5 separate regions of the Homo sapiens genome follow, and all the other regions are linked to region 1. Evidence: promoter capture Hi-C in 16 types of primary human blood cells and fetal thymus (Javierre and others, 2016). All regions are on one chromosome and are shown on one strand. The core of a region is centred on a gene start or on the middle of the fragment in contact, and the rest is flanking DNA. Distances in the headings are between cores, read along the strand shown.

Region 1 (4,896 bases), core at 931-3,430:
GCTAGTTACCAGTATGCAACGTGAACCAGTTCTAAAATGTCAAACTAAAAAAAGTCTGAAATAACCCAAGTCCACCTTTCTACAACTGTAAGGAAGACTAATGAGCTCTCTTCCAAATACGAGTGCCAGAAACAATCTTTGCTGTGTACCTCCTTTCTGGTTTAGTAACTGCTTCAAGAACGCTGCTTCACTCACCTTAATCTTTCCCAACTTAAGTGGGCCTTATAGGAAGTCTTGAAAGGATGGAAAAGCGTAAGGTAATCCACTAGATCACTGCACTACCAACACTTGTAACGCGGTAGTAAGCAAGACACGACACGAAAGAGGACCACAACTTTCCACGTCAATAAGGTTCACTGCCAGAGCTCCCTAGTTAGTACCTGTTCTAGAAAACAGGCCAGGAAACAAGCACAAAAGCTTTTAGGTAATCACGGATATTTCAAAAGTCGTGGAATTTTAAAAGGGAGACATTGAGACGATAATTTAAAGAAACAAGGTGGGCAAATTTTTTCCCAAGGGCACAGATAAACCGCAAATCTCTAATTCAATGCAACATTCTTCACTAAATAACGGGAACTTTTTCATTTCATTATTACGAAGATTAAGTCATTGAACTTAAGTCCATAAAACGTTATTCTGACAAGACTTTGAAATCATTTCGTAGACTTAATCCTATTTAAACTTCTATCCATTTTATCCTAATGCAATAGCACTGCAATCAGACGGGCTAAGTCAATTCAATTGCTAACTCTTCTGAAAACTTACTCTGGACACACTAACACGAAGTACCACAGTGGCAAAAGTAATAAAATCAGTTTTGTGCGGCTCCTGCCAACTCTTAACTTGGAACCACTAAGTAGGTCAGGCCCGAGGCGGGCAGAGCCCCAACTGGACTGCGCGTCCCACACCGGGCACCTCACATTTTGGCACAACTCCAACCAAACGAAACCCAGCCGCTCGGAGCCCACTCCACCCCCTACGGCGGGACGTTAGAGGCCGTCTCCGCGTTTCACCGACTAGGACTGGGGCTCCCGATAGCCGGGAGGCCGAAAGCCGGGCCCAGTCCTTCCCCAGCTGCCCCCACCCGGCCTCGCCTCCTTCATGGGCGCCGGAGCGCCGGGCACGTAGCGCGCGCTGACGTCAGCCCTCCCGCGGGCCCTGTCCCTGCCCCCACCCCGCCGCGCGCCCGGAACGCCGAAACCCCCTGGAACGCCGCCAGCCTTCTAAATCGGGGCTGTTGCTGGGGCGCAGCGGCGCTTCTCATTGGCCGACTCCTGGGAGCCAATCAGAAGCGCCAGCGCATGCCTCCCCTTCCCCCTTCTTCCCCCAAAGCAAGAATGGAGCGGGCGTCACGGAAACTTCCCTCCCGAGTAAACAGCCGCCCCCCCCACCCCGCCCCCACCCGCCCGACCCCCCGGGTGCAGGGTCTGCAGCCCCAGAGCTCGGCCGCGACCGTCTAAGGGCCCGACTCCCCAACGGCCCCCTGGCGGCCTCACCTCTTTCCTGAGGGGGGTTTGGCCGGGAGCCGCGGGCCGCAGCGGGGCAAGGTCGGGGCTGGCTCCCTCCGTGCCGGCTGCGGCTGCAGGACTCGGGGCCAAGGCGGCGGCCGGGCCCGGGACCTCCTGCGCTCCGCTCGGGCCGGTCGCGGGGCTCCGGCCGCCCTCCAGACTCGGCCGGTGCTGCTGGTACTGGTGGAAGCGGCTGGGCAGCTGCCCTGCGGGGCTGGCCCGCACCTTCTTCTTTCGCCGCTTCTTCGGCGCTGCCCGAGGAGTGCCTCCCGCCACGGCGAGGCTGCGGTTGGGCAGAGCTGCTGGAGCGCGAGGCTGGGGGGTCAGACACGGGCCATCTCCCCCTAGGAAATGAGGGAGGAAGAGGGTCGGGGGCAGTGCCCGGGGGTCCGGGATCCGGGGTAAAGGAGGCGGAGCCGTGGTCACCATCGGGAGGGCCCCAAAGTAACCTCGGGAGGAAAAGCCAAGCGGCGCAAGGCGGCCACCCAGGACGAGCGGCTCCCGCTGCGGGACGGAGACGACAGTCATAGCGCTAGGAAGCTTGTCGCTCAGCAACGAAGAGAGAAGGAGAAGGTGAATGAAGCCAGTGAAGATAGGGTGGCGGCGATGGATGCTGCTAGGAGAGCCTGAGAAGATCGCGGAACATGACTCGGGCGGTGGCGGCGCAGCAACAAATAGCCACAGCCCCAGCTCCGAGTGTTGTTATCGGAAGCTCCGCCCCGCGCCCGCCCACTTTCCTGCGAAAGCCCAATTAGAGTGCGACAAGGCAGGCCACGCCCCCTCGCTCCGCCTCCGCAGCTTCGGGTAGACACACACAAACAACCAGCTTGCTGCAGCCTGGCACAAAGAGGGCGCACTGCGCAGGCGCTGCCAGCGAGCTCTTTTGGGAAGAATCGGTCCCGCGAACAATGAAATTGGGTTTCCGCCCCACCCTCTTTACTCCTCCCCAGCACGCCCCTGCGCTTCGCCGGGCTAGGGAGTGGTGGTACTGAAATGTCCCGGCGGAGTTTGTTGATGGGGGTGGGGAAGGGAGGGGGCAGGGGGAGGGCGGCAGGAAGAACGGGGGCTGGGAAGAGGGGATGACTTTGGCAAGGCCACGGTTGCCTCCTCCGCTGCTGACCTTGGGGAAGTATCCGTTTTATTTTCAGCCCAACATAACAGCGTTATCATTTTAAAACAAAGATTTCTAAGTACGCTGTAAGGATTTCTTCCCTAGCAATCGTGAAGAAAATCAGTCTACATTTAAATTTTATCTACTGAAGTATGGCTCACGATTCTTTCATTTACTTGGTTCGGCATCGCTGCTTATTAGTCTCGGTGATCAGAGTAAAAATCAAAGTGACTTACTGATTGAATTAGCCCCTCGATGTATAAAAAGTTCTCCGTAAATCCATAAATGGAAGTTGGAGTTTTTACTGATTTCATACTTGAAGGATTGTGAGACTTTGGGATCAGAACATTGTGCCTGGTTACTTGAGGAGGCGGCAAGCCGGCTTGCGTCTCAAAGGGAGAAAGTGAAACAGCTCTGCAACATAGAGTATTTTGTTAGCTGCGCGTAAATAGAAATTTTTCGCGATCTCCCCGCACTGCTCAACCACAAAAAAGAATTGTGGCCATAATTTATCAAGCATTTATGTTCCAGGAACTGTTCTTTACATAGATTGTCTCACTTTAACCTCACAACAACCCTTACGAATAGGTACTAAGAAAAATAGATCAGACCTCAGCTCTGCGAAGTAGGCAGGCTGTCATTCTCTTCCTTTCACTACTAATGCCTGGGGCAATTGTTTAAAGGCATTTTGTTCCTGATTAGCTGCCTACGCATTATCTTTAAGTTTCTGAAATTTAAGATACAAAGAACAATGTATAGCTAGTCAAGAGCCCACGATATTTTAATGTAAATTGGTAAACAATTTAGGAGCTGCCTCTTTTCCTTTAAAAACCTACTTGTAACTTGCTAATCCGAGTGTATATTCAGGGCAGCTTGAATCTATGGTCCTGGGTTGCAGTCCTCAAGCTTGGCCTGATTTTGCCTCAGCTTCTTTTTGGAGGGACAGTACTGTATTTTATTCCCATTTTACAGCTGGGGAAACAGGCTTAGAAAGGCTAAAGGACTTGTCAAAGATCAAACGGTAAGTTAACATCAGAATTTGATCTCCAGTCCAGGTACTGCAAGACAAAAGTTTTAATTTTTTTTTTTTTTTTTTTGAGACGGCGTGTCACTCTGTGGCCAGGCTGCAGTGCAGTGGCGCCATCTCGGCTTACTGCAACCTCCGTCTCCCTGGTTCAAGAGATTCTCCTGCCTCAGCCTCCCTAGTAGCTGGGATTACAGGCACCCGCCACGCCCAGCTAATTTCTGTATTTTTTAGTAGAGACGGGGTTTCACCTTGTTGGCCAGGATGGTCTTGATCTCCTGACCTCGTGATCCGCCTGCCTCGGCCTTCCAAAGTGCTGGGATTACAGGCGTGAGCCACCGCGTCCAGCCCTGCCACACTAGATTCTACATTATTAGAAGACCACAGTAATCTTACACTTCTGTATCCTCACCGCCTCTACAATAGTTTTCAGCTTTGGAGTAGTAAGCAATTAGTAAGCAATGAAACGTTTTATGATTGATGGCAAAGTTGGACAGATTGCATATCCAGAAAAATGCTTCCCAATCACTTTATAAACTTTTTTTTTTTTTTAGACGGGGTTTCTTTCTGACACTCAGATTGGAGTGCAATGGCATGATCTCGGATTACAGCAACAGCCGCCTCCCAGGCTCAAGAGATCCTCCAACCCCAGCCCCCCACGCCCCTGAGTAGCTGGGACCACAGGCACACACCACCACTCCTGGCTAATTTTTTGTGTTTTTAGTGGAGACAGGGTTTCACCATGTTGCCCAGGCCGGTCTCAAACTCCTGAGCTCAAGCCATCTGCCTGTCTCAGCCTCCCAAAGTGATGGGATTACAGGAGTGAGCCACCAAACCCAGTCAACCTTATAAGCTTTTAAAACTACATTTCAGGCCAGGCGTGGTGGCTCACACCTGTAATCCTAGCACTTTGGGAGGCCGAGGCGGCTGGATTACCTAAGGTCAGGAGTTTGAGACCAGCCTGGCCAACATGGCGAAACCCTGTCTCTACTAAAAATATAAAAATTAGCTGGGCATACAGGCTAATGTGCCTGTAATCCCAGCTACTAGGGGGGCTGAGGCAGGAGGATCGTTTAAACCTGGGAGGTAGAGGTTGCAGTGAGCCGAGATCATGCCACTGCACTCCAGCCTGGGCAACAGAGCAATACTCCATCTCAAAAAACAAAAAAGAAACCAAAAAAACTCCATTTCATTCCAATTGCTGAATTTTACTCATTTTTGTTTCTGCAACATGTAATGCATAGTAAGTGCTC
Region 2 (4,886 bases), core at 2,316-4,815, 1.3 Mb after region 1:
AATACCAATTTTCTAGCAACTGAACCATTGGACATTCTTGCCTAAGTGAAACAAACCCTACTTGTGCTTCTCCACGGGTACAGAGCTTTAATTAAAGGCATGTGATTAAATATTTTCCAGTTAACTTAGAAAAGAGAGCCACAAGGTAAACAGACAGTGGATTAACTGAATTTTTTTTTAACTCTTGATCTTTCTGCATTTATTTTCAAGTTCATTTGTCATTTAATTTGTTGTCACAAATATTTTAGATTTTCCAGATTTAACATTAAATTTGAAATTAAACATAACATAATCATGAATTCCAGATTTCTTAAAACTGGAATACCGGATACCTAACTAGCAATTTGCAGTTTTATACTCTGCCCTCCACCCTTTCAGGCAACAGACAAGGCACTAACATGTTTCAGAAATTTGTTAACAGAGAAAACAGTAATTTGTGCTGTCATCTCCTAGGTGAAACAAACACCCCTGTGTCTTCTGTTCTCTCTAGGAAGGATGGAGGTGACCTCCTCCCTTAGAAGCCTCCTCCATACTGAGAGGAGGGAGAGTTTTCCCAGGATGTACCTCTTTCAGACATTTTTAAAAGCTTAGTTCTTCCTTCCAAATTTGGTGGGCTATTTAATTGAGACATGTAAAATGTGAATGTGGGTTGGGTGCAATGGCTTTTGCCTATAATCCCAACAATTTGAGAGGCTGACGTGGGAGGATTATTTGAGCCCAGGAGTTTGAGACCAGCCTGGGCAACATGGCAAAACCTCAGCCCTACAAAAAATACAAAAATTAGCCGAGCATGGTGGCACGTGCCTGTAGTCCCACCTACCAGGGAGGCTGAGGTGGGAGAATCACCTGAGCCAGGAGGTAGAGGCTGCAGTGAGCCATGATCATGTCAATGTACTCCAGCCTGTGTAAAAGAGTGAGAACCTGTCTCAAAAGAAAAGAAAAAAAAAATTGAATGCATTCAGGACAAATAAATGCCATGAAATCCAGATTCTCTGACTCTTCCTTCAGAACCTATTTGCTCTCCTGCTGAAGAGGTCCCCCAGGATTTGATCACAGCCTGGTGTCCCAGTATCAGAGAACCCAACCAACATTAGCATTATAACTATCAGAGCAATGACCATTGTTTGAGGGCCCACTGTGAGCTTACTGTGTTATCTGATTCAGCATGAGTGGATCACCTTCTTAGAAATAGGACTGTCGGCCAGGATGTGGTGGCTTATGCCTGTAATCCCAGCACTTTGGGAGGCTGAAGCAGGTGGATCACGAGGTCAGGTGTTTGAGATCAGCCTGACCAACATGGTGAAACCCAGTCTCTACTAAAAATACAAAAATTAGCCAGGCATGGTGGCGTGCACCTGTAATCCCAGCTACTCGTGAGGCTGAGGCAGGAGAATCGCTTGAACCCAGGAGGAGGAGGTTGCAGTGAGCCGAGATTGCACCACTGCACTCCAGTCTGGGCAACAGAGCAAGACTCTGTCTCAAAAAAAAAAAAAAAGGAAAGAAATAGGATTATCCAGGCTGAGGGTGGTGGCTCACACCTGTAACCCCAGCACTTTGGGAGGCCGAGGCAGGTGGATCACTTGAGGCCAGGAGTTCAAGACCAGCCTGGTCAATTTGGTGAAACCCTGTCTCTACTAAAAATACAAAAATTAGCCTAGCATGGTAGCAGGTGCCTGTAATCCCACCTACTCGGGAGGCTGAGGCATGAGAATCACTTGAACCCAGAAGGCAGAGGCTGCAGTTTGAGCTGAGATCGCACCACTGTACTCCAGCCTGGGTGACAGAGCAATACTCTGTCTCAAAAAATAAAATAAAAAAAGAAAAAAAGAAATAGGATCGTCCATGGCCGGGCACAGTGGCTCATGCCTGTAATCCCAGCACTTTGGGAGGCCGAAGTGGGTGGATCACCTGAGGTCGGAAGTTCAAGACCAGCCTGACTAACATGGAGAAACCCTGTCTCTACTAAAAATACAACTTAGCTGGGTGTGGTGCTGCACGCCTGTGATCCCAGCTACTCGGGAGGCTGAGGCAGAAGAATCGCTTGAACCCGGGAGATGGAGTTTGCAGTGAGCCGAGATCGTGCCATTGCACTGTAGCCTGGGCAACAAGAGCGAAACTCTGTCTTGAAAAAAAAGAAAGAAAGAAAGGAAGGAAGGAAAGAAAGAAAGAGAAAAGAAGAGAAAGAAATAGGATTGTTCAGTAAAATCAGGCATTTTTGTCCTGTCCAGGCAGTTCTGCCTTTACAGGTCAGAGAAAGAAAGGAGAAGAGTTGGTTTACATCCACTTTCTCTTTTTGAGAAGAAAGTCACCCTCTAAACTGCCACATAGGCTATTTTGCTGGGAGCTCTTCCATTGTCTTTTTAAAATTTTAATGTGTAGTAATCTTGACTCTTGAATGAGGGACCATCAGAAAGAACTTCCTAGTCAAGTTGTAAGGGGGCGGAGGTGTAGACCTTGTTCCAGGTTCTGCTCATTTCTTCCCCTGCCCCTCCCAGACCTGTCACAGATTCAGGGCTGGTCAAATCTTGTCCCAAAACCAAAGAAATCTGCCCCAGAAGACTTCTGAGATTGTCACAAGATTTCTAGTTATCAGAACCAAGGCCATCCAGGCCTCCAACTGAATCTAGATAAAAACCATCTGAATTGAGAACATTCTAGAAACAGAGATCAAGGACAGGATGATACTTTGTAACTATGGGAGGGAATATGGCTTCTCATTTTTCAAGAGAAAATAAAAACAAGATTTCTTGACGTTCTTTCCACTGAATGCTAAAGAAAGCTTCATTGTTAGCTGTCTCCTCTCCCAAACAATAAGGAAGCAAACAAAACAGAATAGAACACCCCTGTACTTCAGAGGTCTTTTTTCTCAGTGCTGCATGTTTTATGCATTATGAACTGAGGTTATCTTTTTCTTGTTAGGGTTTACATAGAACCGAGATAGCCATTAGATATTCTGATTATTAAAGAAGTTAGAAATATTTTTTTAACTCTAAAGGGGCTTCTCTTATTTAATTCTTTTAAAAATCTATTACTGTAATGCAGAGCATTGTCTTTGTCATTATAAAGAATTTTTAAAAATGATAACTAATACAGTCTTATTTTTGAAATTGTCTTCTAGTTCAGAAGGGAGAGGGAGAGTAAACCAAGAATATGAAAAAGCAAGAAAAGCATTAAGTGCGAAGGGATCTTTTAAAAACTTGTGTTAGGAGTGGTGGAAGGTAGTATTTCGTAGTGTTCCTAGGATTTCACTAATGAGCAGATTGAGGATACAAATGATTAATAAAACACATTATCTTGGCCTGAAGCATCTTCCAGGCTAGTTGAAAGACAAGCATGTAAATCAATTGATTACAGTTAAAAAGACAAGAGCTTTAAGGAATAGAAATGACATGCTGTGAAAACTGAGAGAAGAGAATGACTAGGTCTGCTCAGGAAAATCAAGAAAGGCTTCACATAGAAGATGACATTTGAGCTGGGTCACCAAATGTGGTAGTTTTAAAATATGTTCACAAATTTTTAGATACTTCTCCTTTCAAGAGGTGGAACTTAACTCCCCTCCCTTTGAGTGTGGACTGGACTTAGTGACACTCAGCCTCCCAAGTAGCTGGGATTACAGGCACCCACCACCATGTTCGGCTAGTTTTTGTATTTTCAGTAGAGACGGGGTTTCACTGTGTTGGCCAGGCTGGTCTCGAACTCCTGACCTCAGATGATCTGCCTGCCTTGGCCTACCAAAGTGCTGGGATTACAGGCATGAGCCACAGCACTTGGTGTCAACTTCTTTGTGCTGTCTACTAGTGACACTAATAGAAAATGGCAGAAGTGACAGTGTACTTCAAAGATGAGGTTATCAGCAGCATTATGGTTTCCTGTTTACTCTCTTCCTTGGATCACTCACTGTGAAGGAAGTCAGCTGCCATGTCACGAGGACACTCAAGCAGATCTATGAAGATGACTACATGGCAAGAAAGTAAGGCCTCCTGCCCACAACAGCCACGTGGGTGAGCCATCTTGGAAGTGGCTCCTCCAGTCCCAGTCAGGTCTTTGGATGACTGCAGCCTCAGCCAACATCTTGACTGCAACTGCATGTGAGACCATGAACTAGAACCATACAGCTAAGCCACTCAGAATTCCCAACCCCAGAAACTGTGAGGTAATAAATGTTTATCATTGGTTTAGATCACTACCTTTTGGGATAATTTGTTATACAGCAATAGATTCCTAATACCCCAGATGAGTATCAATTTGCTCTATTGGCAGGTGGGAGGCATCCAAATAGAACTGAAAGGGTCCCAGTGAGTGGTTGAGTATGGCTGGAGTGTAAGACATGTAGTTGTGACTCTTAAGCTTTTAGTGTATTAGCAAATGCCCTAAGTATTCTTAAAAGTGGAATTTCCTTAAATTAATGAATATCGTTGGCCAGGTGCAGTGGCTCATGCCTGTAATTCCAGCACTTTGTGAGGCCAAGGCAGGAGGATCATTTGAGACCAGGAATTCAAAACAGGCCTGGGAAACATAATGACACCCCATCTCTACAAAAGAAAAGAAAAAAAAAAGAATATTGTGGAATATGGCTACTCACTGCACTTTGGGGGAAAAAAATTAAATTTTTTGCCGTGACCTGAAAGCTACTTCTCTAGTTCACCCTGTGTCACAGTCCTCCTTGCTCACTACACCTGAATCACATTGGCTTTCCTTATTCCATCTCCCCCCCAGGAGTTCTGTGCACACAGCTGCTTCTGTTTAGATAGCTCTTCTCTTTACCTTCCCTCTGGCTGACTCCTGCTTCTCTTATAAGACACAGCCTGCATGTGCCTTCAAGGAGATCCCTTTTCTGACCATCACAACTGTTGTTCTTCTCCGTAGTGCTTGTTTGTTTCTTCCAT
Region 3 (5,270 bases), core at 164-2,663, 1.5 Mb after region 1:
TGCTTCTCATAAACCGTTTTAATCAAAATAAAAAATCAGATCCATGACATAGCCTTCTTCATCAATCCATTGTTTTAACATAGGGAGAATGTAGCTTCTTCATGTGCATTTTTCAGCTTTCTCAGACAGCTTAACTTCAGGGGCTTCCCGCTGCACTTACAATAGAACTCAAGGTCTTACTTTTTGTGGTCCAGAACAGCGCTGTCCAACAGAACTTTCTGTAATGATAGAAATGTCCTATATCTGCACTATCTAAAATGGTAGCTGCAGCCACATGTGATGATTGAGCACTTGAAATGTGGTTAGTGCAACGGAGAAACTGAATTTTTATTTAATCTTACTTTATTTTAACTCAAATTTAAATAGCCACATGTGGTGAGTGACTAACACATTGGACAATACAGCTCTAGGGCTTATCTTCTTACCAACTACACTATGTCTTGCAATTTCTTGCCATCTAGGTAGCCAACATGAGGAGGTCTATAAGATATCCCACCACACACACCCGCATCCACATTACTTTTTCATTCTCATTTTTCATGACGCTCCCACTCTTTGTCTACTTTCTGATTATGATTTTTAAATTCCTCTAATATGCCATTTTATTTCTATCTTCTGGGCCGAAGAAACATGCTGTTCTCTCTGCCCTCCTCGCCCTAATCCTTAACCTAACTTCTACTCATTTTTCAGGTCTCAGCGAAAGGGTCACTTTCTCCAAAAAGCCTCCGCTAACCCCCGACAACCTATATTAGGTTCTTCCCACTCTTCTGTTGTCTGCCTAGAACTCTTTTCCTTGCTAACACTTAAAATTTGTGATCGTCAGTTTATCTATGTTTACCGACTTTCTTGACTGCAGAAACTGAATCTGTTTTGTTTACCACTGCATCTTGGTACCTAACGGAGTGCTTGGCGCACAGTATTTGTGAGATGGAAAAATGAGAGACTGGGCCACATCATCAGGACATCCGACCTCCACCAACCAGAACTTAAAAATCCTCCTAGCCATACCACAAGGCAGATCCGCGTCCTCGCTCCCCAAGCAAAGTTGGCCTCAACTGATCTGGAGCAAGGACGCCTCAGCTCAGTACGCCGCTCCCTCCCTCCTCTCCAGCCAGGGAAGGGATGCCTACGTAACCTCGGCTTCATCCCTTCTTCAAAGGGGAATGAGGCAGCGGTAGAGCCACAGTGCGCATCGGCCACCACATACCTTAGACATCGAGGACGTAGCCATGGTCTTACTGACTCTGCGTATTCCAGATGCACTCGGGATTTCCCGCGCGCCCTCGCGGCTGCAGGGCAGAGGTTAGTGGCGAGCCACACGGCTCCTTGATTGGCTGGCATCACCCTCCGGGGCGGGTTTCCGGCGCGGGGAGGCGGGTCGTATAAGGAGGTGGGGCGAGGCCGGAACTGGCGGACTGCGGCGCACTTCCGTAGAGGTGGACATGGCGTGCGGCTTTCGCCGCGCTATTGCTTGCCAGGTATGGATCCCGGAGCGCGCAGAGGAGTCCCTGAGGAGCTAGGGACCCCAAAGGCCTTTCACCGCTGCGGGCCAGTCCTCAGTCAGCTGGAGGGTGGGTCCCACGGAATCCTGTTAGTTTCTACCACCTCCTCCCCCTTCTCTGGAGCTGGTGGAGCTTCAGAAGTCCTGTGGAGCGTCGGCTGGGATCAGTTTGTCTCGGTGAAAAGTAAACTTTGAAAGGTACCTGGTGCTTTCTTCTCTCCTTCCCACCCCACAGCTATGAATGCTTTACCTGGGTGGCGGCAAGTCATTAGACCATGATTAGACCCCATAGAAGTTAGTGTTCTTTACACTTTAGTGACATTGATGATGGATCTGGATTGTTCTTCAGAAGGACCTCATTTTAAAGCTGCTTATTTCTCTTGCAGTCACTTAGGCAGCCTACCCTAGAATTGTTTTTGGTAACGCCCAAAGATATAAGAGCTATCTGAGACTCAGTTTTTCTTGGTTCAGGGTCGTATTTGAACAGCTCTGTTGTGAGGAAGGGCTTACAAAATTGCAATATAATTGCTTTGTTTTGTTTTTCCTTTTTGTGGAGAACGGGGTCTCGCCGTATTGCCCAGGCAGGCCTCAAACTCCTGGGCTCAAGCTGTCCTCCCTCCTCTGCTTCCCTAAGAGCCGGGATTACAGGCCTGAGCCACCGCGCTGGGCAAAATTGCAGTATAAATGTGGAATTAATCAAAAAGAATTTTTAAGACTCATTGGCCACCCTTGCAAGGAAACTTTCTATTGTGGTCTTGGCTAACCCATTTCCTTCTGATTAATGGATGTACTAGTGGACGTAATTAGCCTGGTGTATAATTTATCTTGGCTCATTTTTACAGTATTTCTAGACATTTGTGGGGAAATCCCTCTGCCTTGTCTTTATGTTTATAGATGTACTGCCCTGTCCGGTGATAATTCGCCAAATATCACCAACATGACATTTTGTTAAGACAGCTGAATTTATTGCTCACTGGGATAAGGAAGAACACCACTGAGAGCTTTGGTAGTGTATTAAACTGGGAAAGCAAGGTCAGATTTTACTGATGGGTATGGCTTAAGGCTGGTCTTTCAGAGGGAGAGGGTAGGAGGGTGTTGGAGGAAGATGGCTTGATTAGGGTTGGACTCTGATCTGATACAGCGGTTTAAGATTGATAGGAAAAGCAAAGAGTGCAAGAAGCCTTAAGGCATAAACTATTGAGGTTTTCTATTGGAAGAACTAATAGGCCTGGCATGTGGTTCATGCCTATAATCCCAGCACTTTGGGAGGCCAAGGTGGGAGGATGGCTTGAGCCCAGGAGTTCGAGACCAGCGTGGACAACATAGGTAGACCCCGTCTCAACAAAATTTTTTTTAAAAAGTAGCCAGGCATGATGGTGCACCTCTGTAGTCCTAGCTGCTTGAAAGGCTGAGTCTGGAGGATCACTTGGACGGACCCACGAGTTTGAAGCTACAGTGAGCTATGATTGTGCCACTGCACTCCAGGGTGGGTGACAGAGCGAGACCCTGTAAACAAAAAATAAAAATAAAAAACGTGAAAAGCTAATAGATTTCTCATGAAGTTCTTATAATGAATGATTAAGTTATTTGGGCAGAAGTCTTCTAGAACAGTAAAGTTATGCTAATGAAGACAAAAAATAATAAATTCATGTTAATGTAGACAGTAAACCATATCAGGGAAGGTAGTTTTGGACCTTAGTATCTAAGCTGTGTGTAAGGGTGGACGTTTTCCATTCTTAGCCCTTAAGTAAAGATAGTGCCATGATGAGAAACAAATTGTGTTTAGTTTTGCAAAGGCTGTGTTCTTTGTAAAGACTGTAAATTGGACCAGGCATGGTGGCTCACACTTGTAATCCCAGAACTTTGAGAGGCCGAGGTGGGAGGATCCCTTGAACTGAGACGTTCAAGACCAGCCTGGGCAACATAGGGAGACCCCCATCTCTATAAAGAAATAAAAAACAAAACTTAGGTGTAGTGGCACACACCTGTGGTCCCAGCTGCTTGGGAAGCTGAGGTGGGAGGATCGTTTGGGCCCAGGTGGCTGAAACTAGCAAGCTTTGATTGCACCGCTGCACTTCAGCCTGGGGGACAAAGTGAGTCCCTGTCTCAAAAAAAAGAAAAAGATAAGTTGGAGAAACAAGAACTAATATATTGAGTATATATTTGTGCTAGTTACTACACATTCACATTTAAGCTCATGGCAACCCTGTGATATAGAAGTATTAACCTTATTATATAATTGAGTCAGTTGAGATCCACAGAGATTAAATAACTTACCCAAAGCCACATCATCAATACATTGTAGAGTTGGTTTATGAACAGAACTCTAACTTTAAAATTAGATCTTTCCTATATACTGTGCTCTTTGTGAAAGCAAGAAGCACAGTCCAATCATTGAACAGAATCTAATGGATTTATACAGCAGTGTAAATTATGCAGATATATATGTATTTCTCTGAATATAGAGTCATTGGGGAATGATCTGAAACTTGAGGATAAATAATAATATTTTCAATACGTTAGGACATGGGGAAAAAAGAGCAAAGAAAAAACATGTTCCGTACAGTTTGAGCATCCCTAAGCTGGAAATCTGAAATGCTCCAAAATTTGAAACTTTTTGAGTGCTGACATGAGACTCAATGTTCATTGAGTTCATTGGAGCTCAATTGGAAATTGGAAATGTTCATTGGAGAATTCCAGATTTTCAGATTAGGAGCTGGGTATGGTGGCTCATGCCTATAACCCCAGCACTTGGAGAGACTGAGACAGGCAGATCACTTGAGCCCAAGAGTTCAAGACCAGCCTGGGAAACTAATTAGAAAATTAGTTGGGCATGGTGGCACCCTCCTGTAATCCCAGATACTTGGGAGGCTGAGGTGGAAGGATCACTTGAACCTGAGAGGTGGAGGTTGCAATGAGCCAAGATTGTGCCACTGAACTCCAGCGTGGGTGGTAAAGCAAGACCCTGTCTCAAAAAATAAATAAATAAATAAATAAATAAATAAATAAATAAATAACCAACCCCACAGATTTTCAGTTTAGGGATGCTCAACAGGTAAGTATAAAGCCAATATTCCAAAATCTGAAAAAATTCAAAAGTTGAAACACTTGTGGTCCCAAGGATACCCAGCCTGTATTTAATACCTTTGCGAATGAGCATCGTTTTGCTATAATAGTTTAGGAATGAAGGAATGTGTAACGTGCAATGGCAAATGCATTTAGCTAACTTTGATTAATTAGTCGACAGTTTTCTAAGCACTGTCATCAGTCCCAAGGCTAAAAGTGAACGGAAAATAGTTTCTGCCCTGAAATGGCCTCAGACATGCTTGGAAAACGATGTAAACCGGTAATTGCATTGCAGCCTGTAATCACTGTATTAGAAGCATGTGCAAAGTGCCAAGGGAACTTGAAAGCTCCTAAGGGTCAGACAAAGTTTTGTAGAAAGGTGATGTTAGGTCTCAGTTTTGAAAGGGATATGGGTAGGAGTGTGCCAAGTAAATAGAGTGAGAGCTTGGGGAGAGGTCAGGTATTGCAAGAGGAGGATGTGCATAGACACAGACATCTGGAAAGCATGATATGTACATAGAATCACAATATTTGGATTCCTTTCTTCAGCAAGTCCTGTTGATTTTATCTTTATATCTTGAATCCATCTACACTATTGCTGCTGCCTCCCCCTCTCCTTTCTCTATTCCACACCAAGCCCCCATTATCACCTATATTGACTGCTTACAACAGCCTTCTGATGGGGTGTTTGTTTCCATTCTTG
Region 4 (5,010 bases), core at 1,067-3,566, 1.9 Mb after region 1:
TGTGACAATAAAGTGCATACAGCAACGGAGATTCTTTTGTATGTGATCACGTATCCCCGACATAATAAAGAAAATATTTCAATATTTGGAAGCTAAAAAATAAGTGAAAATGTAATCTACTCAGCTAAAATGGTCAACCATTGTTCTACGTTAAGATCAGTATTTTTCCAAAACGAATTCTCTGTAATGATACACTCACAAGTTAACTCTAAATATGACCTGTGTAAATTGTGTCTTCTTTTTCCTCCTCAAGACAATCAAATCAAAGTCTTCACCAGAGCCAGCAACACTACCTTGAAATTTTAAACCTAAGTGTAAGGCTCGTAATGAAGTGCAAATGTAGTCCCAAACTCTCCGATTTTCACCATGGATGAAATGATTTTCATCACTAGCAAACAGTGTTATTAACATTCCAAATTCTGGTTAGAATGCAGTCACTGGTGAGCAGTGCCCTTGGGCAAGCAAAGAAAAGATTTGAAACTACCCAAAGCACAGATCCACATGAACCTCAGTCTTCTCCCACTTCATCAGGAAGCCAAATAGGAAGGACTCCAAGAAACAGGGGTGAGGGGGTGATCGGGACAGAAAGGATAGTGGAAATCATACTCCTCGAAGGGCGAAAGCAAATGAGAAACGGACTCTGGAAAAACCGCCCCAAAAGGACACTCAACCTGAGACAGATGTACAGGCACAGCTCCTCTACACTAAGGAGATAAAGCTTTACCACAGAAGTGATGCACCAAGCAAGCAAGTATGGGCAGGAGGGGACAACCTCCGCCAAGCACCCCCTCCCGAACGTCTAGCTCAACTAGAAGGGGTCGGCGGGGACTGCTCCTCCGAACATCAACAAAGGCCCCTTCAGTCCTAAGGCGAAACTCGAACAACAAAGGCCCGGAGACAGCCAGGACAGGGCCGGGGCTGGGGGGCGGGACGGATGAAAGCAGGGGAAGGCAAAGGAATCAAACCAGTGGGGGCGGAGGCCCGTCGGAGTGGGAAGCAGAGGCGCAGAGGCGGGAGGCGCGGTAATCCCCAGTGCACAATAAAAGGAGGAGGAGGAAGAGAACCTGGCCTCCATTCTCCTACTCTCTCCAATCCGCACCGTGTACATTTCCTCAGCCGCGGGGACCGCGCAGTCCCGAGTTCAGGGAAGGAAAGGGGAGGGGGGATTTTCCGCCTTGACCGCAACTCCCTTCCCCCAGCCAGGAGCTGCAGACGACAACAACCGCCACAACTGCAGCCACACAAAGGCGCCTTCCTTCTACTCCCGCTCCCACCCAGGCGGAGGCGCCGATGATGCCAAGGAAGCGGCGACCACCTCTCGGCCGCCTAGCGCTCGCTCGCCCTCTTCCCCCTCTAGCTGGGGAAAGGGGGAGGGGACCACCGGGCGCCCTCACCTGGCACAGCTGCTGACAGTAGTCGGTGGCCGCTTCCACGGCCGGTACCCGGCTCTCCCGCAGCTGTAGCTCCAGCTCCTGGAGCCGCTCGCCCAGGCGCTGCAGCTCCGCGACGCAGCCGCCTTCGCCGCAACTCAACCTCTCCTGCTCGGCCTCTTCGTCCGCCATCTTCACACCCCGCTCCGTCGCGTACGCACCTGGGTCACGTGATAACACAATGCCACGTTCGGCGGGGTCACGTGCCGGGCGCGCTTGCACGGCGCCGAGCACGTACAAAGGGCCCGATGGGGAAGATATGGGGGTGGGGAGAGTGGCGCGAGAGAGCCCGAGGGAGGTGAAGGCAAGGGGAAAGGAGAAGGGCGGGGTTGGGGCGGTGCGGAAAACGGCGGTTTACTTACCCCGAGCGGGAAGTGGGCAGCAGCGGCCGAAAGGGGCGGGCTGGTGAAGGCCTGCTCTCGGTCACGTGGGCGCCGCGACGGGAAAAAGCCTAGGGAGGGGCGACCCTCTCCGGCGTCCCGATCCCGGCGTGGCTTTCCCCAGTCCACGAAGTCTTCTACGGACATATCCTCCTGTTCCCCAAGAGGATGGCACAGGGAGAGTTCTGAGTGGTCTCGGGCAATGGCTGCATTTGCTGTTGGCCTGTAAGCAGGCCAGAAGCAGAGGAAGAGAGAGAAGGTAAAACCCGCCCATGGACCGCAAGCGTGAGAGCCAAGGCAGGACTATGAACTGTCAAAATTGTCTCTGACTTCTCACCAGGCCGGAGAGGAGGGATCTAGTGCGTGAGGTACCAGATCTCGTCTCACTTGACTCTCCTCCTCTTCAGCACCAAGAACGCCTGTCCCCTGGAAACACATTCTCTAGGGGGTGGAGGCAACAAAGGAAAAGAACAATTGGGTCAGAGCAGAATGAGGTTCAATCCTCAGTCTGGAGAACGGAGCAAATTCATGAAAAGCATAGTTTAAAAGAAGTCAGAATATGAACAGACCAGATGACTTTTAAACCACGAAAACATTTCTAGAATAAGTGATAACTAACTACTCTGTTTCACCGTGATTTAGACTCTACTACACTCTACAGAAATCACCAACAATGACAACAGGCTATATATGAAAGCTATTGAAAAGAAAGTAGGTCAAGGAAAAAAAAAACACCAATAAGGACTCCATTAAAAATCATAACGGAGGAGAGGAAATTGATGCTAAAATAAAACAATATTGTCGAGAATTATTATAAATATCTACAGCATTTTTTTTTCCTAATGCTACAAATAGAGGTAGCATTCTGAACCACATTTTACTTACAAGCTGAAAAGAATTAATACTTGGCACTTGAACAAAAGAGTAGAAGAGGTGCTACAAAAATCCAAGAGCTTAACCCTAAAGTTCTTAATAAAACTAATATTTTTTTTACCGTTAGAGCATTAGACAAAAGACCTATCTCTCTTGCAACTGAATAGTCTACAGAAATTTAGAAACAATGATATTGATGAGGCACCCAGTCTTTTCATTTACTCTGAGTGAAGTATATTTTTTTAGTACAAGGATCTAAAATAAAAATACTTCCCATTGTGGGCAGCGTCCTCTTCAAAAGATTTCTAGTAATTAATGGAAAGTGTTCTACATACTATGTTGTCCAGAATAAATGTTTTATAACGCATCAGTGATGGTGATGTTTTTAAAGCGGCATTATATAAGGTGACCAGGCACAGTTAAACCCCTTATGAAAAACAGTATCAGTTAATATTACATATTAACAAGGTAGAATCTTCAAATGTTTAATCTTCAAATGTTTACTCATGGAAGAGACTGGGAAGTACATTCAAAGGCTGAGAAGAGAGGATATAATAGTATCACTGAGTTGAAAAAGGAACAATTAAGGCAGCTAATGATTTTTAATATTTTCAGTTCACTTTCCCAAGTTAAGTATTTTAGATACCCAAACCAGGTTTCACCAGTTTATGTTATCTTAGGATTCCAGTGAAAAAATGCAAAAAGGGAAATATGAGGTTAGCCAAATGTACCCGTAAATCCAAGGTAAGGTATCACAGGTTAGCAAGCTCATTTCCACTTCAAGTATAATGGTTTACACCACACCTAATCTATAGAAAGAAAGAAAAAATGGGGGTTGAGGGGTGGGAGACATATATATCCAGATATTGATTTTTAAGAGAATTGCCTGATAATGTAGGTCATTCCTACCTCTTGCACATAACAACCCTAAAACTATGGAGACTTGATTAGCAAATTGATTCTGAGCACCATTACTATCTGGTAAATGTCCATCAGCATGGATGGCCATGTCTTTATGTTTATTTAGTATCTGTGAACCCTATGTCCACATTCCTCCATTTCTTCTCCTTTGCACACACATAGAAATATTTAGAGCCTACAGGAAATGTAAGGATTGGGGGTGAGTGGTGTAATTAACACTCATTTATTGTGTACTTGATATTTGCAGGCACTACTTGGTTTGGGACAAGTCAGAGGCGAATAAAAGCTCTTCCTGCCTTGAAGAAGCTTACAGTTTTGTGGGAAAATGATCTGCAATGGGAATACATACGATATGACAAATGTTCTATTATGAAAATGCATGCCTGTATTCAACTTAGAACATCAAAGTAATCTCAGATACTAACAAGAATGTCCAACGAATCTCTACATAAGTGCAGGCTTTTTTTTTTTTTTTTTTTTTTAATGAGAAGGATTGAAAATACTATCCCGTGACAGGTCAACCTTGTCTTGGAAATCTCAGAAATCTCAATCTTATCCATAGAAAAGTCATGACTTCTGTGCTTATGTCCATTTGTTCTTTAAATACCAAACTGTCAGCTCATAGGAACCATTTACACACACACACTGACACACACACAAACACGCACACCCCTACTTACTGAGATGTTCCTGGGGAGATTCGAAGACCTGTTCCATTGAGAAAACAAGAATAAGCCCCTGGGGCAAAAGACTCCGCGTCTCTGGGGAACTCAGTATCCGCGCCGCGAGCACCCATGCCCATTTTGAACACAACGCGACTGCTAAGGACGTGGTGTAATCATATGGACCTTCACTCCCAAGAGACTCGATTTCAGAGAAAATCTGGGAGACAAATTTAGATCCCTACCCGCACCCACGCGATCAATAAAGCTGGGGAGACCTTTGGGGGAGGGGACAGATGTGCTTGCATCCGGGCCGTGCGTGCCTGCTTCACGGGTTTTCCGGGCAGCACCGGCCCGCACACGCCGGTGCACTCTTTTTCTGGAATTCTTGAAATAGCCGGGCCTGAGGACAGTAAGGGAGCTGAGTTGTGTCTGCTACAGACAAGCGGCGCAGAGCCTGGGGGCCAAGCCAGGGATGCAGGGAGCGCGGCGTTAGCGGATGACGGATAGCTCAGGGCTAAGGCCTGGCAGGTCCTTCCTACCCCCGACCCAGTACACCCCGCAGCCCCGCCCTCGCCCCAGCACGCGAGGTGAAAGCGCGAGGCCCGGGGATGGCGGAGAGCGTGCGCCACTATCGGGGCGCTGTCTCTTGCCCCGCTCTCGCCCTGGGCCGGAGAACGGAGAAGGTCCGCAGGCCTCGGGCCACGGAGGGCACCAGATCGGTCCGCTCTGCTCCGCTAACCC
Region 5 (4,883 bases), core at 1,346-3,845, 1.2 Mb before region 1:
GATTTTATAGAATAAACTGTATGTTCAACTGAAAATTATCAGTTCATATGGTGACATTATCAATTTAAAACACCTTGGGATGTTACATGTCCACAGAACCATGTAAGTATTTGTTGCTAAATTAGTTTTAAATGGATTTGTCCAGTTTCCCCCGATGTCAAAGTTAGGTTGCTTATGTATTTGGGCACCTATAAGAATTAAAATATTACATAACGTTGTATTTTCTTCTTTCTAACATACAGGATTAGATTCTTGCTTTAAAATTCTCCATTAATGTCTTCAAATTTTTCTTTTATATTCATTGAAAATTCAAAAGCAGATTAGGGTTCTGAATACCTGTTAAGAATACTCAAAAGGGATATTTAAATAAATATATCTCATTAATACATTGATTTTATATTTAGCATATTTTTTCTTCTTATACATAGTCCATATTTTGACCTTATGGGAACCTTTGAAGTCTGAGTATTTTATAATGATTCTCCACAATACCTCTTTATCTTTTAGATTCTAGATCTGAGATCAGGCAAGTAAAATAGTTTTACCTTTTTCCCCTCAAAAGGCCATGACTAACAAGCTCATTTACTTTTTCCTTAAATATTTTGCTAATTATCCTTTTAACTGATGAAGTTCAAGTGGAATCCATGATTCATTTAATCTTTTCCCCTTTATGTAATTAGTCACTTGTTCTTTTGATGTTCCTAGCAAAACTAATATTTAAAGGGCTAGTCATAAAATTCCAAAATAAAAAGTTCTTAAATGACTTAAAATAAGAGATAAAATATGCTTTACTGTATAGTAAAAATGGAGAAAACGTCTCATGAATAGATGTTCTTTAAGGCTGTGAGTTATTTGATTTAAGCGTGTGTTACCAGGTCTGTGTTCTTTTGGTATATAGGACCAAGAAACTACTTTATGGCTTAATGTTTGCTGTACGTATGTCATCTAGATGAGATAATGTATGACAGAGGGCTTTATAAAATGATAAAGTAGTGTAGACTTTTTTTTTTTTTTTTTGAGACGGAGTCTCGCTCTGTCGCCCAGGCTGGAGTGCAGTGGCATGATCTCGGCTCACTGCAACCTCCACCTCCTGGGTTCAAGCGACTCTCCTGCCTCAGCCTCTTGAGTGGCTGCGATTACAGGCATGTGCTGCCGTGCCCAGCTAATTTTTGTATTTTTAGTAGAGACGGGGTTTCCCTATGTTGGCCAGGCTGGTCTGAAACTCCTGATCTCAGGTGATCCGCCCACCTCAGCCTCCCAAAGTGCTGGGATTACAGGCATGAGCCACCGTGCCTGGCCGTATTCTTTTTTTTTTAAGAGCAAGATTTAGGAAGATTACTGCATATTCCTATAGCGTTTGTTCGATTTTAGATTTTTTCAGAATGGTTTGAAATCACATATTCTAGCTTGAACTCTAAACCTGGTCTGTCCAGTATGGTAGCCATCAGCCACATGTGGCATTTGAGCATATGAAATGTGGTTGAGATGTGCTGTGCAATATACACCAGCTTTCAAACAAAAAGGATATATATCTCCTTGATAATTTTTATTATGTTGATTACATGTTGAAATGATAATGTTTTACATATATAGGATTAACTAGTAAATATTAAGATACATTTGGCCTGTTCCTTTTTACTTTTTAATGTGGCTACTAGAAATTTAAAATTATATGTGGTTCACCTTATACTTTGATTTCAAAGTGCTGATTTAGTCTCTAAAGTCTAGAGTGATTGAGAGCTCTCAGAGAAAAGAAGATCAGAGCTTAACAGAGAGTTTTAGAGATGAGGTGCCACCGACAGAATCCACTTACTTGAAGAAATCCCAGTCTGCACCTTTGCCCTACTTTTAGAGATTACTGCTTTCTTGAACCCACAAAGTAGAGCACTGGGTAGCAAGCATTTAATATCTACAATGTACAGAGCATTGAAGGGGGATTAAAATAAGTATCACACAGGTCCCTGCCTTTAGGGAAAACATATAGTCTACTGGGGAAGCAAGATATGAGCACATGAGTTGTTAAATCATGGCTTGAGAGATACATAGCTGTTCAATGCTCAGGTCCAAGACTGTTGCAAACAGACGGTTGAGGCACTAAAAAAAGTGCTTCAAAGGAAGGAAAGGTCTCCACGGCCTGGAAAGGTCTCCATGGCCTGGAAGGGTGTCCCACCAGAGGAATGCCTTGGCTGGGCACTGACGAGTGGGTAGAATTTCAGTGGGCAGAGAGAAAGGGGGCATGGCCAGGTAGGAGGCAGGGTAGAGTGGGAAGAAGGAGGAAAACATGGAAAAGCACAGAATGGTTGAGAAGTCAGTGAGAAGAAGAGATGGATTGAACTGTGAGCTGTGAGTAGAATCATTCTCTAGTCCACTTATTATTGAAGCTTTAATATTTGACATCGTCTCCTATAATATTATGTATCTTGACACTCTTCCGAAAATTATTTACCAAGTGTCTCAAAGTAGAGGTTAGGGCAGGACACTTTAACTTTGGGTAGAATAAATGTTGCATATCTTTGATTGTTAGGAAGTTCTTTAAATGGCAAAACTGATAATATTATCTTGCCAGTTATGTTTATACTAACATTTTGTGTAGAACCATGTAACTTTAAAGGCTTCTCGGATAAGTACATTATTAGTATTTCAGGCAGTAGTGCTCAGCATTTGTATATTCTTCTTGCTTAAAATGCCTTCAGTGTTATGTCATTTGATCTTTGCTGTTGGCTCCATTTTATAGAACTGGAAGCCAGAGAAGCTAAGATTGAATAATTAATGGTAGAGTCTGGAATTTGAACCTAGCTCTTAAGCTTCTTCCATTTTACTGTGTGAAACACACTAGTTTTCATTCCTGTAAGTCTGTTTCTTAAGAGAAGCTGATTAATTTTATTTCTTTTTAATTGAATGATAATATAAATAGGGAAAAGTATGCATATAACATATATTCATCTTACTGACGAATTTCCATAAAGTGAACACGCTGTTGTAACCAGTTCCCAGATTAAGACACAGCATTATCAGCGCCCTAGAAATCCCTCAGGCTTCCTTCCAGTAACTACTTCACCCGTGGTAGCCACTACTCTGACTTGGGAAAGCATAGATTTGCTTTGCCTGTTTTTGAACTTTATATCAATGGAGATACAGAATGTACTATTTTGTGTCTAACTTCTTTCACTCGATAATATGCACAGTTAACTCATATTGTGCATGACACCATATTGACTATGGTAGTTGATTTTTCATTCTCCATGCTATATAGTATTATATTGTGTGACTATACCACTATTTATTAATTTGTATAGTTTCCAGTTTGGGGCCATTATGAGTAGCAATGTGAAGATTCTAGAACATATCTTCAGGTGAACAACATAATTATTTGTGTTGGGCATATTTAGGAGTTAAATCAGGAAAGCAGTGTAATTTTTAAATGTCTTGTAGATGAGGCTGAAATTTGACTTTGTGACACTCTTCAAGAAAAGAAGTGAAAACCTCAAACTGTTGGTGTCTTGAATAGTATATCAAAATAAATACTAAGGCAGCCATTATGAAAAGGTCCAAGGTAGAGGAATTTTAATGCCCGAACACATTTTTTCAAGGGAGGATGAAAATAGTCAATTCTCATATAGAGAGAATTTGAAAGGGTTAGGATGTTAAAATACTGACGTTATATCACTCAGGTTTCTCTTACAGTTATATTTTTTTTCTTCAAGAGAACTTTTAGCAGGTGATAGTGGAAAACTAAGGTGTGATTGGTACCAAAATGACCATTGTCCCAGGGTATAATAAGGGATGAATAACTGGGGAGTGTATTTACTAGGAAATAAGAAAATGGGGTTGGGTTAAATGGCAGGAAGGTACATTCCAAAATCTATAATGCAAGCTATGGTTCTCAAAATTTTACTGAAATTTCCTCTCTCTCTCACTCTTTTGCTTAGCGTAATCTGTAGGCAAAAGAATTTGCATTCTTTTAAAGAAGGCAATTATAAATACCATAACTTGTTTTTAGAAAAAATCTTAGACGTTTATCCAGAGGCAACCTGTCTGAATGAAAATGTAGTTCTAGGATTTGCCAACACAAAAGACTTCAGTGTCTACCTTTAATGCTTATTAACATTAATGGTGATCATTTAAAGGTGTGTGTTTTATGTTTAGACTTATAGGTGTTGTTGATCTTAAGCAGACTAGGCAGAGAAATCCTTCACATTTTCTGTGCTCTCATTCAGGATGGCCCTAGGCATGTTACATGGGAAATGAGAATATGTGAATAAATACTCTCATACTTTCTTGGGCCTCAATGAAAAGAACATTTGTTACCATTTTTAGTCATAAATTAAAATTATTTCAGAGTAGGAAATATAACATTAATTTAGAACATGGCTGTCATAGATGAAACGTTTTACACATGTATTGCTGTGGTAGACATTCCTTGCATTTATTGAAAGCCTCTCCTTTATAAAGTTAGTGAAGTGTGACTACTCTGACCTCCAAATACTGGGTGTATTTGAACTATGAAAGTAGGTTTAAAAGTTACACTTTTCTTTAATGCCCATTGATGATTTCTTTCTTTTTTTTTTTTTAAGACGAAATCTAGCCCTGTCACCCAGGCTGGAGTGCAGTGGTGTGATCTCGGCTCACTGCAGCCTCTGCCTCCTGGGTTCAAACTGTTCTCCTGCCTCAGCCTCCCAAGTAGCTGGGACTAAAGGTGCACACCACCATGCCTGGCTAATTTTTTTGTAGAGACTGGGTTTCACCATATTGGCCAGGCTGGTCTCGAACTTCTGACCTCAGATGTTCAGGCCGCCTTGGCCTCCCAAAGTGCTGGGATTACAGGCGTGAGCCGCTACGCCCATCCAGAACAACAGGCACTGGGGCCTACTGGAGAGTGGAGA

What was found. Contacts are between HindIII fragments. The CHiCAGO score rates a contact against its expected background, and 5 or more counts as called.
Region 2: a contact is called between a fragment that was not itself captured here and the fragment with the promoter of PNRC1 in region 1, in 1 of 17 cell types (M0 macrophages). The highest score is 6.7, in M0 macrophages.
Region 3: a contact is called between the fragment with the promoter of RARS2 here and the fragment with the promoter of PNRC1 in region 1, in 3 of 17 cell types (total CD8 T cells, total CD4 T cells and fetal thymus). The highest score is 8.4, in total CD8 T cells.
Region 4: a contact is called between a fragment that was not itself captured here and the fragment with the promoter of PNRC1 in region 1, in 8 of 17 cell types (non-activated CD4 T cells, fetal thymus, naive CD4 T cells and 5 more). The highest score is 14.2, in non-activated CD4 T cells.
Region 5: a fragment that was not itself captured here is called in contact with the fragment with the promoter of PNRC1 in region 1 in 1 of 17 cell types (fetal thymus); the score reaches 5.4 in fetal thymus.

What each region holds. Positions count from the first base shown.
Region 1 is chr6:89,078,035-89,082,930 of GRCh38, reverse strand. PNRC1 (proline rich nuclear receptor coactivator 1) reads right to left here and starts at 2,180. Exons shown (of 2, transcript NM_006813.3): 1 at 1,497-2,180. The coding sequence starts at 2,036. It overlaps PNRC1-DT (PNRC1 divergent transcript), which reads left to right and starts at 2,351. Exons shown (of 1, transcript NR_187250.1): 1 at 2,351-2,769. RefSeq lists enhancers at 507-1,467, 2,986-3,075 and silencers at 1,376-1,755, 2,146-2,295, 2,346-2,555. The HindIII fragment of the contact is 1,477 bases long and covers 2,051-3,527 here.
Region 2 is chr6:87,741,328-87,746,213 of GRCh38, reverse strand. No RefSeq gene overlaps it. Among named protein-coding and RNA genes, the nearest start is that of AKIRIN2, 42 kb to the right of the region's middle. RefSeq lists an enhancer at 3,806-3,955. The HindIII fragment of the contact is 1,568 bases long and covers 2,782-4,349 here.
Region 3 is chr6:87,586,130-87,591,399 of GRCh38, reverse strand. It overlaps RARS2 (arginyl-tRNA synthetase 2, mitochondrial), which reads left to right and starts at 1,413. Exons shown (of 20, transcript NM_020320.5): 1 at 1,413-1,478. The coding sequence starts at 1,443. It overlaps ORC3 (origin recognition complex subunit 3), which reads right to left and starts at 1,265. Exons shown (of 20, transcript NM_012381.4): 1 at 1,208-1,265. The coding sequence starts at 1,231. RefSeq lists enhancers at 1,329-1,558, 1,322-2,283. The HindIII fragment of the contact is 3,839 bases long and covers 1-3,558 here.
Region 4 is chr6:87,152,144-87,157,153 of GRCh38, reverse strand. ZNF292 (zinc finger protein 292) reads right to left here and starts at 1,589. Exons shown (of 8, transcript NM_015021.3): 1 at 1,395-1,589. The coding sequence starts at 1,562. LOC124901355 (translation initiation factor IF-2-like) reads left to right here and starts at 1,907. Exons shown (of 2, transcript XM_047419630.1): 1 at 1,907-2,178; 2 at 3,852-5,010. The coding sequence starts at 4,766. RefSeq lists enhancers at 163-770, 1,282-1,621, 1,892-2,051, 4,565-5,010 and a silencer at 4,977-5,010. The HindIII fragment of the contact is 3,192 bases long and covers 721-3,912 here.
Region 5 is chr6:90,275,657-90,280,539 of GRCh38, reverse strand. All of the region lies in intron 1 of BACH2 (BACH transcriptional regulator 2), which reads left to right. Among named protein-coding and RNA genes, the nearest start is that of BACH2, 19 kb to the left of the region's middle. The HindIII fragment of the contact is 423 bases long and covers 2,384-2,806 here.